2 separate regions of the Homo sapiens genome follow, and region 2 is linked to region 1. Evidence: promoter capture Hi-C in human tissues and cell types (Jung and others, 2019). All regions are on one chromosome and are shown on one strand. The core of a region is centred on a gene start or on the middle of the fragment in contact, and the rest is flanking DNA. Distances in the headings are between cores, read along the strand shown. Region 1 holds the start of ANKRD52 (ankyrin repeat domain 52). Region 2 overlaps STAT2 (signal transducer and activator of transcription 2).

The links. Contacts are between HindIII fragments. The study calls those that stand out against the background at their distance.
Region 2: a contact is called between a fragment that was not itself captured here and the fragment with the promoter of ANKRD52 in region 1, in 6 of the 25 tissues and cell types used here (aorta, bladder, liver and 3 more).

Annotation. Positions count from the first base shown.
Region 1 is chr12:56,255,539-56,260,871 of GRCh38, forward strand. It overlaps ANKRD52 (ankyrin repeat domain 52), which reads right to left and starts at 2,846. Exons shown (of 28, transcript NM_173595.4): 1 at 2,705-2,846; 2 at 2,290-2,373; 3 at 1,745-1,823; 4 at 1,477-1,547; 5 at 246-446. The coding sequence starts at 2,731. RefSeq lists enhancers at 856-1,848, 2,155-2,204, 2,285-2,334 and silencers at 2,395-2,464, 2,485-3,034, 3,045-3,104. The HindIII fragment of the contact is 23,354 bases long and covers 1-5,333 here.
Region 2 is chr12:56,348,163-56,353,495 of GRCh38, forward strand. STAT2 (signal transducer and activator of transcription 2) reads right to left here. Exons shown (of 24, transcript NM_005419.4): 9 at 3,130-3,288; 10 at 2,936-3,028; 11 at 2,667-2,726; 12 at 2,250-2,270; 13 at 1,935-2,028; 14 at 1,427-1,474; 15 at 1,264-1,347; 16 at 1,001-1,099; 17 at 762-897; 18 at 590-642; 19 at 367-461. It also overlaps the pseudogene RNU7-40P. Among named protein-coding and RNA genes, the nearest start is that of STAT2, 9.3 kb to the right of the region's middle. The HindIII fragment of the contact is 5,164 bases long and covers 1-4,792 here.

The DNA.
Region 1 (5,333 bases), core at 1,596-4,095:
TCTCTTCAGAAAGGCGTGTATGCAAATATTTTCCACGCAAAATCCAAGGTTTTATCAACCTCCTGAAGTCCAAGTTAAGAATTTTAATCTAGTCTGACCATTCATTTAGTGCTTCAGCTTAAGTGTTTATATAACCATCCGGGCTGCTTCTCCTTCAGGCTTGAGGGCCCAGAAGCAGGGAAACGTGAGTAGGAAGGTAAGAAAAGGGAAAGCCCCAGCTGGGCCTGGATGGGAACAGTCCTCACCTCAAGATGCCCACTATGCACTGCATGGTGCAGAGCACTGCGCCCGCTCCTGTCAGCCACGTTGAGGCTGCTCAACAGGGGTGCCAGAGCCTCAGCACACTTGGTGGCCCGGTTGGCAGCAGCCACATGCAGTGGTGTCTGCCACAGCTTGTCCCGGGCATTCACATCTGCTGAATGTGCCAGCAGCAGCCCCAGCACCTTCTGTTGAGGGGCAGGGGACAAAAGAGAGAGTGGGAGCAGGAGGTAAAACAACAGGAAATGGAAGGAGGAATAGGTCAGCATAGCATCTACAGCCCCTTCCCCAGCACAGAATCTCTTCTCATTTTTCCAACATACCTAGCCTCTGAATACCTACTTTCCATCTTCTGGATCTTCTTAGAACTTAAGCTCTTCCTTACCTTGCTGATTAAAACAAGGACCCTTTGCTCTTCTTCAAGCCACCTGACTCGCCAACTTAGACCCTGAAAATCTTCACTCACACATACATCCATTCCCAAACAAATCCACATGTGGAGATCCACACATCCCAACCCCCTACTACTTCTAGGAAAACTAAATGCTCTTGCTACATCTTGCCCTGAACACCCTCTTTAGCCTTCTCATAGGCACCAAAATTATTTTCAGTATCTCAGTAAGCAAACAGATACTGGTTCGTTTGCAAAACCCGAGCTAAAATGCCCCTCCTAACCACCACCCACCTCATTCCCACTGGCCTCGGCCCCTCCCCCTGGTGGCTGGAGCCAGGGAAGTGATGAACTGAGGAGGAGGTCCCCCTTTCCCTGTCTTCAGGGCTGATGGGAATAGGATAAAGGACCCAACTGATGAAATATGTTTGGCCCCTGTGCTGTCAACTTTCAAGCTGCTTGAGGGCCAAGGATGCAACAGATTACTATACCCATCCTCCATCACAAGGAAAAGAAATCTCAGTGCCCAGAGGGGGATCAGACTCAAGGTGGCCCCCCAGGGAGGGATGAGTCACTCAGGCCTGGCAGCAGGGCCCCCGCAGTCTGCCAGCCCAGTGTTAAGCTCTTCCTGAGTCACATCAGCTGGCAGCACTCAACCCCCTTACTGGCCAGTTCTAGGGGTAGGAGGAAGGGGCCAAGATTTGATCTCCTCACTACCTGGGGTAGAACAGCTTGTAGGGCTGAGGACTGAGGCTCCTTAACCCTTAACCCCCACCTTTAAGCAACTTATCCTTTTTGAAAGGGTAATAGAAGGTGGGGGTGCATACCTCGTTTCGGGAGGCAGCAGCACGATGAAGAGGGGTCAGCCACAGTGTGTCCTTAGCATTGACATTAGCACCTGTGGGGATATAATTTCCTATTTTGATGGAAGGTGGGGAGGAGGTATGAAGGAAGCCAGTAATCAGGCCAGGAAATCTGAATGGAGCTGGAGCCTCGCCTGGACCAAGCCGGGGAGAGCAATCCTTGAATATCAAAAAAGACTCCTCCCCTCCCTTCGCTCCCTATGTGCCACACCTTCCAGCTCCCCACTTTCACCTGACATCAGTAGCAACTGGAGGATGGGGACATCGCCTACGTAGGCAGCAGCATGCAATGGAGTTCGCCTCTCTTGGTCCTGGGAAGGCAAAAAAGAGCAGGGAGTATGGGCGCGGGGTAAGGGGGCTATCAAGGACCCCAGCCCAAGTCTCAGAGCTCCAGGCCCTTCCCCACAACCTCTTCCCATAGTTTCTGCAGCGTCCTAAGTCCCGGTATTGGGAGTCAAAGGCAAGCACCTAGGGAGGGTGGAGTCAGGGCCAATGGGCTGAGAAGCCGGCTCCTTTTTCCAGGAGGGGTGGGGGCGCTGCAGACTCCGGAGGTTGAGAAGAGAACAACGTTCCTGGGCATTCCCAGCCCAAGTGATCTGGGCTTCAAGCCTGACCTGCTCTCCATCCCCAAATGCAGAGTAGGCTTTCACTCCAGGATGGAAAGAACTGCGGCCTCATCTGAGCAGAGGAGACACGGAGCCGCCCCACCGGTGGGGAGGGGTCCAGAACACGGGAGCCAGGATTCCGGTCTCGCCATCCTCCCTGCTCCCAACTCACCAGCACATTGATGTTCTCCTTCTGCGAGAGTAGGGAACGCACTTCCTCCACATCTCGGCTAAAGATGGCCTGGACCAGGGGCGGCTGCAGAGAGAACCGGCATTCTGAGAGCGGGCTGGAGCCGGAGCGGAACCGGTGTGGGGGTGGGGGTGGGGGAGCACCTAGGTTTGAGTGGGGGGCGTCCGTGGAGGGGCTCCACTCTAGGGATTCTGGCTGGAGCGAGCTCCCGCGGTGCCTCCGCCGGTTGCCAGGTCCCCAAGGACACCGGCTCGGTTGAGGGGAGCGCGGCATGGGGCGGGGCGGGAGCTGCGGGAGCCCCGGGCTCAGGCCCAGCCTAGGCCGCACATCCCCGGGCTCGCGTGACGGCAGCGCCGAGCCCTGGAAGGAGGAAGCGGGAAAGGGCAGGAGGGCTGACCTGGTCCGTGATGCTGAGGATCCCCATGGCTCGGCCCGGGCTCCGTCCGCATCGAGCTCCCGGCGGCGGCGGCGGCGGCTCCACCGGGGACACGGAGCGGCCCAGGCGGCGGCTGCGGTGGCGGCTGCAGGGAGAGCGCGGCCCCGCCTACCGGGGGGCGGGCGAGTTGGAGGCCGCAGCGCTCCCTGGCGGCCGTCCTGGTCCCGGCGCTCCCCGCGCAAACGGACCCCGGCCGCAGCGCCCTCCGCCCCACCCTGGCGGCCCCAGCAGCCCCTGCACCCCCGAACTCGCGCGCCGGCTCCCCGGCTCACGCAGCTGGCCGCGCTGTGCTCTCCGCTCCAGTCTGGCGGCCCAAGGGGTTCCCCACAAGACCCTAGCGGAAACCTGGGCCTTAGTCCCGCGGTGCTTCCCAAACTGAGGACCGAACGGCTGGCCAGATCTTACCCAGCCCACAATGCTCCCGCCCGAGCTAACTCCTCCCGTCAGCGATTCCACACCCCGAAATCCCCCACAGACTAGGAGGAACTGGCGGGTGGAGAACTGGGAATTATGTATGGCAATAGCCCCAGAGGGAGGGAAAGCGTGTATCTCCACTGGCGGAGGCGTGAGTTCGGTAGAGAAGAAATAGCAAAAGTGCTCAAACTGCAGAGAAACCCCAAGGAGGATTCTACTGCAGAAAACACCCACAAAGAGGCCATGACAACTGGCAGCTGGAAAAGGCCGCCAAGACCAACAGAAGGGGCATTTTCCAACTCCTTACTGATTCCATTGCAAGGTTAAAGTGGAAAACACTCAACAATTTCTCCCCAGAACAGCCTGTGGCGCTTCCCCTCCTCCAATGGAGAGGCCAGAGAGCCGTCAATTAGAGAAGAAATGAATGGAGGTCATCTCAACCCAGAAACGGAAAAAGGAGGAAGACGAAAAGTGGAGATTGAAAAATTGATACAATTTATAAAAGGTGATCCAGGGTCCTGTTCAGAGTTTCACAACTCAATACACATTGAAGAGAACACGAAATGGACGAAGTGCAGCATGCTGGCGTCCTGTCAAGGCTTTATATATAAAAATCCTCCCTTGAGGGGAGAGGAAAAAAATTAAAAAATAAAAATACATTTTATTTTATTTTTTGAGATGGAGTTTCACTCTCGTCCCCCAGGCTGGAGTGCAGTGGCACGATCTCGGCTCACTGCAACCTCCGCCTCCCGGGTTCAGTGATTATCCTGTCTCAGACTACCAAGTAGCTGAGACTACAGGCGCCCGCCACCCTGCCCGGCTAATTTTTTATTTTAGTAGAGACGGGGGTTTCACCATGTTGGTCAGGCTGGTCTCGAACTCCTGACCTCAGGTGATCCACCTGCCACGGCATCCCAAAGAGCTGGGATTACCGGCGTGAGCCACCGCACCCGGCGAAAATACATTTCAAAAAAGCCTTCCCGGCCGGGCGCGGTGGCTCACGCCTGTAATCCCAGCACTTTGGGAGTCCGAGGCGGGTGGATCACGAGGTCAGGAGATCGAGACCATCCTGGCTAACACAGCGAAACCCCGTCTCTACTAAAATACAAAAATCAGCCGGGCAGGGTGGCGGGCGCCTGTAGTCCCAGCTGCTTGGGAGGCTGAGGCAGGAGAATGGCGTGAACCCGGGAGGTGGAGCTTGCAGTGAGCCGAGATTGCGCCACTGCACTCCAGCCTGGGCGACAGAGCGAGACTCCGTCTCAAAAAAAAAAAAAAAAAAAAAAAAAAAAAGCCTTCCCATTCCCAACATGGTGAAACCCCATCTCTACCAAAAATATAAAAAAGTAGCCTGGTGTGGTGGTGCACGCCTGTAATCCCAGCTACTGGAGAGGCTGAGGCAGGAGAATCACTTGAACCAAGGAGGCGGAGGTTGCAGTGAGCCGAGATGGAGCCACTGCTCTCCAGCCTGGGTGACAGAGCCAGACTCCATGTCAAAAAAAAAAAAAAAAAAAAAAAGCCTTCCCTTGCTTTCCTGCTAGAAAGATACTTAAGACACTAGTAACAGTCCTTTTTTCCCAGAAAGAAAAACTGGGGTACAGGAAATAAGGAATGAGAGAGAAATTTACCTATCACTATATACCTTTTGGAATTTTTTAAATTTTTACCATATTGAAAATAAAAGTTAAAATATTGCTTAGGAGCAATCACTCCGTGATTCCATGCACACACAAAAATTATGAAGAAATTTAAACTTACCTCTTCCAGGAAGTCTCCTCTGGCTAATAGGCTCTTTTCCTTTTGTTAGTTCTCCTTAACACTTACATACTTAGTTTATACTGCCACAATCTGGTTAAATTGTACACCTTTGTTTCTCATTTCACCTTTTTTTTTGGAGACCAGTGTCGCTCTGTCGCCGCCCAGGCTGGAGTGCTGTGGCGGGATCTCGGCTCACTGCAAGCTCCGCCTCTGGGGTTCATGCCATTCTCCTGCCTCAGCCTCCCCAGTAGCTGGGACTACAGGTGCTGCCACCATGCCCGGCTAACTTTGAGTAGAGATGGGGTTTCACCATGTTAGCCAGGAGGTTTCAATCTCCTGACCTCGTGATCCGCCCGCCTCGGCCTCCCAAAGTGCTGGGATTACAGGCGTGAGCCACCGTGCCCAGCCAGGTATAGTTTTT
Region 2 (5,333 bases), core at 961-3,460, 92 kb after region 1:
CTGCAAGCTCCATCTCCCAGGTTCACGCCATTTTCCTGCCTCAGCCTCCTGAGTAGCTGGGACTACAGGTGTCTGCCACCACGCCCGGCTAATTTTTTGTATTTTTAGTAGAGACGGGGTTTCACCGTGTTAGCCAGGATGGTCTCGATCTCCTGACCTCATGATCCGCCCGCCTCGGCCTCCCAAAGTGCTGGGATTACAGGTGTGAGCCACCACACCCGGCCTTATTATTGTTAACAAATGTGAGGAGACGTGGCCTGCACCTGTCTTTGCTCTCTCTCCCTGCTTGCCACGTGAGGGTGCAGAGACTCCACTCTCAAGCCCGGAAAGCACAAGCCCATGAGGGAAGGGTGACCAAGGCCTTACCCATCATTCCAGAGATCCTTCAGGTGGTCATGTACCAACTCCAGAATTTTGTCCAGCCATGTCCAGAATGGTAACTTGCCAGGAGGGCTCTCTCGCTGGAGGAGGAATGGAAAGGTAGCAAAAGCTGAGGAGTTGCCTCTGGTGTAGGGAAGGAGGGACGTGGGAAGGCCAGTATTTGGAATGTGGGCTAGATCCAGCAGCTCCACAGGATTCAGGGAGTTACCTTAGTGAAGTCAGCCCAGGACAATAATGGATCCTCAGTCCTACAGTTCTGCCCTGTGGGACAGATAGCCACAGACAGATGATGAGGGAAGCCAGGGGTCCTGGGATAGATAGGACAGAGGGACAGAAAAGACTAAGGCTGGGGAAAGGCTGAGAGAAAAGGAAATCTGTACCGAACAGCTTGTTTCTCAGCATGCTCAGCTGGTCTGAGTTGAGGCCTCGGCCAACATAGGAGGAGAACTGCCAACTGAGAGCAGGGCCCAGCAAGCTCCAGGGGGCCTTGGGGGGGTTGGAGAAGAACTGCTGGTTCTGCAGGGGTGGGAGCAGTGTAGGCTGGCTCAGAAGCAACCTATCACACCAAGCTTCCACACCCCTCCTCTCGCGCCTTGACCTGTCGGCCCCACTCCCCTACCTGAAGGTTTGGGCTGAGCAAATTGAACCAGAGAACTGAAGCCCAGGCAATTGAGAGCTGGTTCATGTTGGAAATAATCACCACAGGGAGGGTGTCCGTCTGGGGAGAAGACAGGAGTCACAGAGAGGGATGTGATGTTTCTAGCTGCAGGTATTTGTTAGAGGAAAGGAGTGCTAACCCACCCCAAGAGGCTTCTGTTTATCCCCTTCTTATGCCTTCTTCCAAAGCTGCTTTCTCTCTCCTTGCCCTCCATTTTCACTCACTTTCAGCTCCTGCTTCAGACCCTGGTAGGTATATTTGACCGTGAAGCTGATGATGTGCAGTTCCTCTGTCACACCTAGTGGCCCCTGGGACAGCCAAAGACATAGTCATCAGAAGGCTCTTTGGCAAGCTCCCCCTGCCTCGAGTCCTCTGTCCAGATCTCACCTTATTGCTGCCCTTTCCTGAACCACCTGAACGTTGCTCCACCAGAGTCTGTGAATTGAAGGGAAGGAGAGAAAATGCCAGAGTGGGCACCCTAGTGTCCCTGGAACCCCTGTTTGGCTTCAAGACCTCTCAAGCCCTGGGAACTTCCCCCAACCCCTGTTCCTTTGGACTAAAAGCAGGCCAGCTATGGTGGCTCATGCCTGTGATCCCAGCACTTTGGGAGGCTGAGGCGGGTGGATCACCTGAGGTCAGGAGTTCGAGACCAGCCCGACCAATATGGTGAAACCCTATCTCTACTAAAAATACAAAAATTAGCCGGGCATGGTGGTGTGTGCCTATAGTCTCAGCTACTCAGGAGGCTGAGACAGAAGAATTGCTTGAACCCGGGAGGCGGAGGTTGCTGTGAGCCAAGATGGCACCACTGCACTCCAGCCTGGGGGACAGAGTGAGACTCCGTCTCAAAAAAATAAAAATAGTAATAAAAGCATAGGTCACAAACTATTCTTACCAGGTAACCAAAGTCCCAAATCAAACCCTGACTCTGCCCCTTCTCGGGGGTCAAAGTTTTCTGGTTTGAAGTCAGAATGTTGAACTTCCGGAAGCTGTTCCAGGAGGAAGATACATGGAGACAAGGAATGGAATTATTCTAAAAACTCAGCAGAAAAAAAAAAACAGAAGTTCCACTTCATTTCAGATCTCGCCATCTCCCTTTGTCCATATCCCAAATCCCCCTCTTCCTTGTTTGTGCCACCAGGGCTGCCGAATGTGGTTCTGCAGGTCATACACTGTACAGATGTTTGCAGTGTCCTTGTCAAGCACCTACCCTTGTAATTGAGGAGGATTCCTGAAAAGAAATAAATTTAAAAAAATCATTGGGCAAAAGAGTATGGAAGTTAGGAGTTTCGTCTTTGGGATCAGACAGACCTCGGTTCAAACCCGACTTGAGCTCACTAGCTATGTGGCCTTGAGAAGAGATGTAATCAGTCTCTCTAAGCCTGTATCTTTGTTTGTACAGTGCACTGGTAATAGTTTATTCATGGGGTTGGTGTGACAATTAAATGAGTAGCTGACATGCTGCATGTCACAAAGTAAGTGTTCAACAAAAGAAATGAATTATAATTTCTGTGAGGTAGGATTGGAAGGAGGAAGGAGATAGCCCTAGGGCCCTGTTGTGAAGAGTGAGTATCTCCTCCACCCCAGCAGCCCGTGTCCTGGCCACCCTTCACCTGCTCCAATTTACCTGTCAATGGAGACTTCCACAGTCAGTGACTCATTGCCTTCCTGGAGTCTCACCAGCAGCCTGGGGGAAGGAAGGGGGATAGGGGAAAGTGGTCAACCTCAACCTTCCGGATAGACTAGATGTTTGAAAAAGAGAAGAGGGATTATAAGAGGTAGGGAGATTGCAGGGAAAGAGAAGAAAAAGCCAAGAGTGGGAAGAGCTGTAAAGCCAGAAAATACACAGTGGCAGGGTTGGAAAAAGGAAGTGGGAATGAGTTCTGGAATGCCAACCTTGTTCGGACGGTGAACTTGCTGCCAGTCTTGAGGATGAGGGGTCGATGGGGAGTTTGGGGCATGCAGGGCTGGGTTTCTACCACAAAGGCTCTGAGGAGAGAGAGGTGTGGAGAGAATATATAGCTCAGTATCTGTAAGAATGGCTTCCCTTGTTCCTTCTTTCCCCCAGGGTTCCTGCCTGGCCTCTAGACCTGTGGAGCAGACGCTGTAGCAACTCTGTGACCTGGGCGTTGCGTAGGTCCACCCCTTTGGTCAGAGGGTCATCCTGATAGCTAACCAGGCAACTCAGTCCCTTCAGCTCCTTCAGCAGCTGCCTCAGGTGAAACAACAGCTTTGCTCCAGCTGTGAACCTGGGTGATAAAATTCAGGAAGAAGGAATCCATGAGTTTCCTGGATTCCCCCATCCAGGTTCCAAGATCTCTCTGTAAATATGTGAAGAGTCAGAAACTGACTGGGGGGAAGAAAAAAAAAGAATCCAGGAAGCATATAAAGGATTATTCAACATGATTCATAATCCAAGAAATGAAAATCAAAGCTATTTTCACATATAAAACTGCTAATAGATTTAACATAACAGTTTTCATATGCTATGTACAACTTATATTAAGCCCTTTCCACATATTAATGCATTTAATCCTCAAAACAACCCTCTGAGGCAGGTACTATTATTTTCCCCACATTACAGATGATAAAACTGAGGCACAGAAAGGTTAAGTGACTTGCTTAAGGTCATACAACTAGTAAGGGATGAAGCTTGTATGTGATCCCAGGCAGTCTCATTGTACAACTCACACTTTGTTTTTTTTTTTTAGACAGTCTCACTCTCTTGTCATCCAGGCTGGAGTGCAATGGTGTGATCTTGGCTCACTGCAACCTCCACCTCCTGGATTCAAGAGATTCTCCTGCCTTGGCCTCCCGAGTAGCTGGGATTACAGGTATGTGCCACCACGCCCGGCTAACTTATATATATATATTTTTAGTAGAGACGGGGTTTTGCCATGTTGGCCAAGCTGGTCTTGAACTCCTGACCTCAGGTGATCCGCCCACCTTGGCCTCCCAAAGTGCTGGGATTACAGGTGTGAGCCACTGCACCCAGCCCCAACTCACATTTTTAACTACTGTACTTTACTGTCTCTATAATTAAAAATAATAATAATCAGCAATGTGGTGACAGGAAAACAACCATACACTACACATGAGAAAATAGATTCGATTGGGACAACTATTCTGGGAAACATTTGTAACTATCTTTTTTTTTTTTTTTTTTTTTTGGTGGGGGTGGGGGTGGGGGTGGTTTCTGGCAAAAACCTGAAAGCCTGCTAGACAAATCCTAAAAGAGCTGTAACACTTGGAACTATCTTTTAAAAAGCCTCGCCAGCTGACATGGTGGCTCACACCTGTAATCTCAGCACTTTGGGAAGCAAAGGTGGGCAGATCACTTAAGGCCAGGCACTCCAGCCTGGGAGACAGAGAGAGACCCTGTCTCAATCAATCAATCAATCAATCAATCAATGCATGCATGCATGCATGCTGGTCCTGTACCATAAGTACTATATGCCTGTTTTTCAATCTACCTGAGCAATTGTGGTATTTTTTTAATCTACTTTTTTTTTTTTTAAGAGGTGAGGGTCTTGCTATATTGCTCAGGCTGACATCAAACTCCTGGACTCAAGCACTCTTTCTGCCTCAGCCTCCTCAGTAGCTGGGTATTATGGTATGTGTACATATATACTTTTAGAGACAGGGTCTCGTTCTGTTGTCCAGGCTGGACTACAGTGGTATAATCATGGCTCACTGCAGCCTCCAACACCTGGGCTCAAGCAATCCTCCCACCTCAGCCTCCTGAGTAGCTAGGGACTACAGGCGTGTGCCACCATGCCTAATCTTTTTTTTTTTTTTTTGAGACGGAGTCTCGCTCTGTCACCCAGGCTGGAGTACAGTGGCATGATCACAGCTCACTGCAACCTCTGCCTCCCGAGTTCAAGTGATTTTCCTGCCTTAGCCTCCTGAGTAGCTGGGAATACAGGCATGCGCCACCACACCTGGCAAATTTTTGTATTTTTAGTAGAGATGGGGTTTCACCACATTGGCCAGGCTGGTCTTGAACTCCTGACCTCAAGTGATCCACCCACCTTGGCCTCCCACAGTGCTGGCCACATGTGTGAGCCACTGTGTCCGGACATGCCTAATTAAAAAACAAATTTTTTTTTTTTGTAGAGATGGGGTCTTGTTATGTTTCCCGGGCTGGTCTCAAACCCCAAGACTGAAGTGATCCTCCTGCCTCAGCCTTCCAAAGTACTAGGATAACAGGCATGAGACGCCATGCCTGGCCTGGTATATTTCTAAAAGACTAAATTATAATAAATTTTTAAATGAGAAAATATTGAAAACAGTA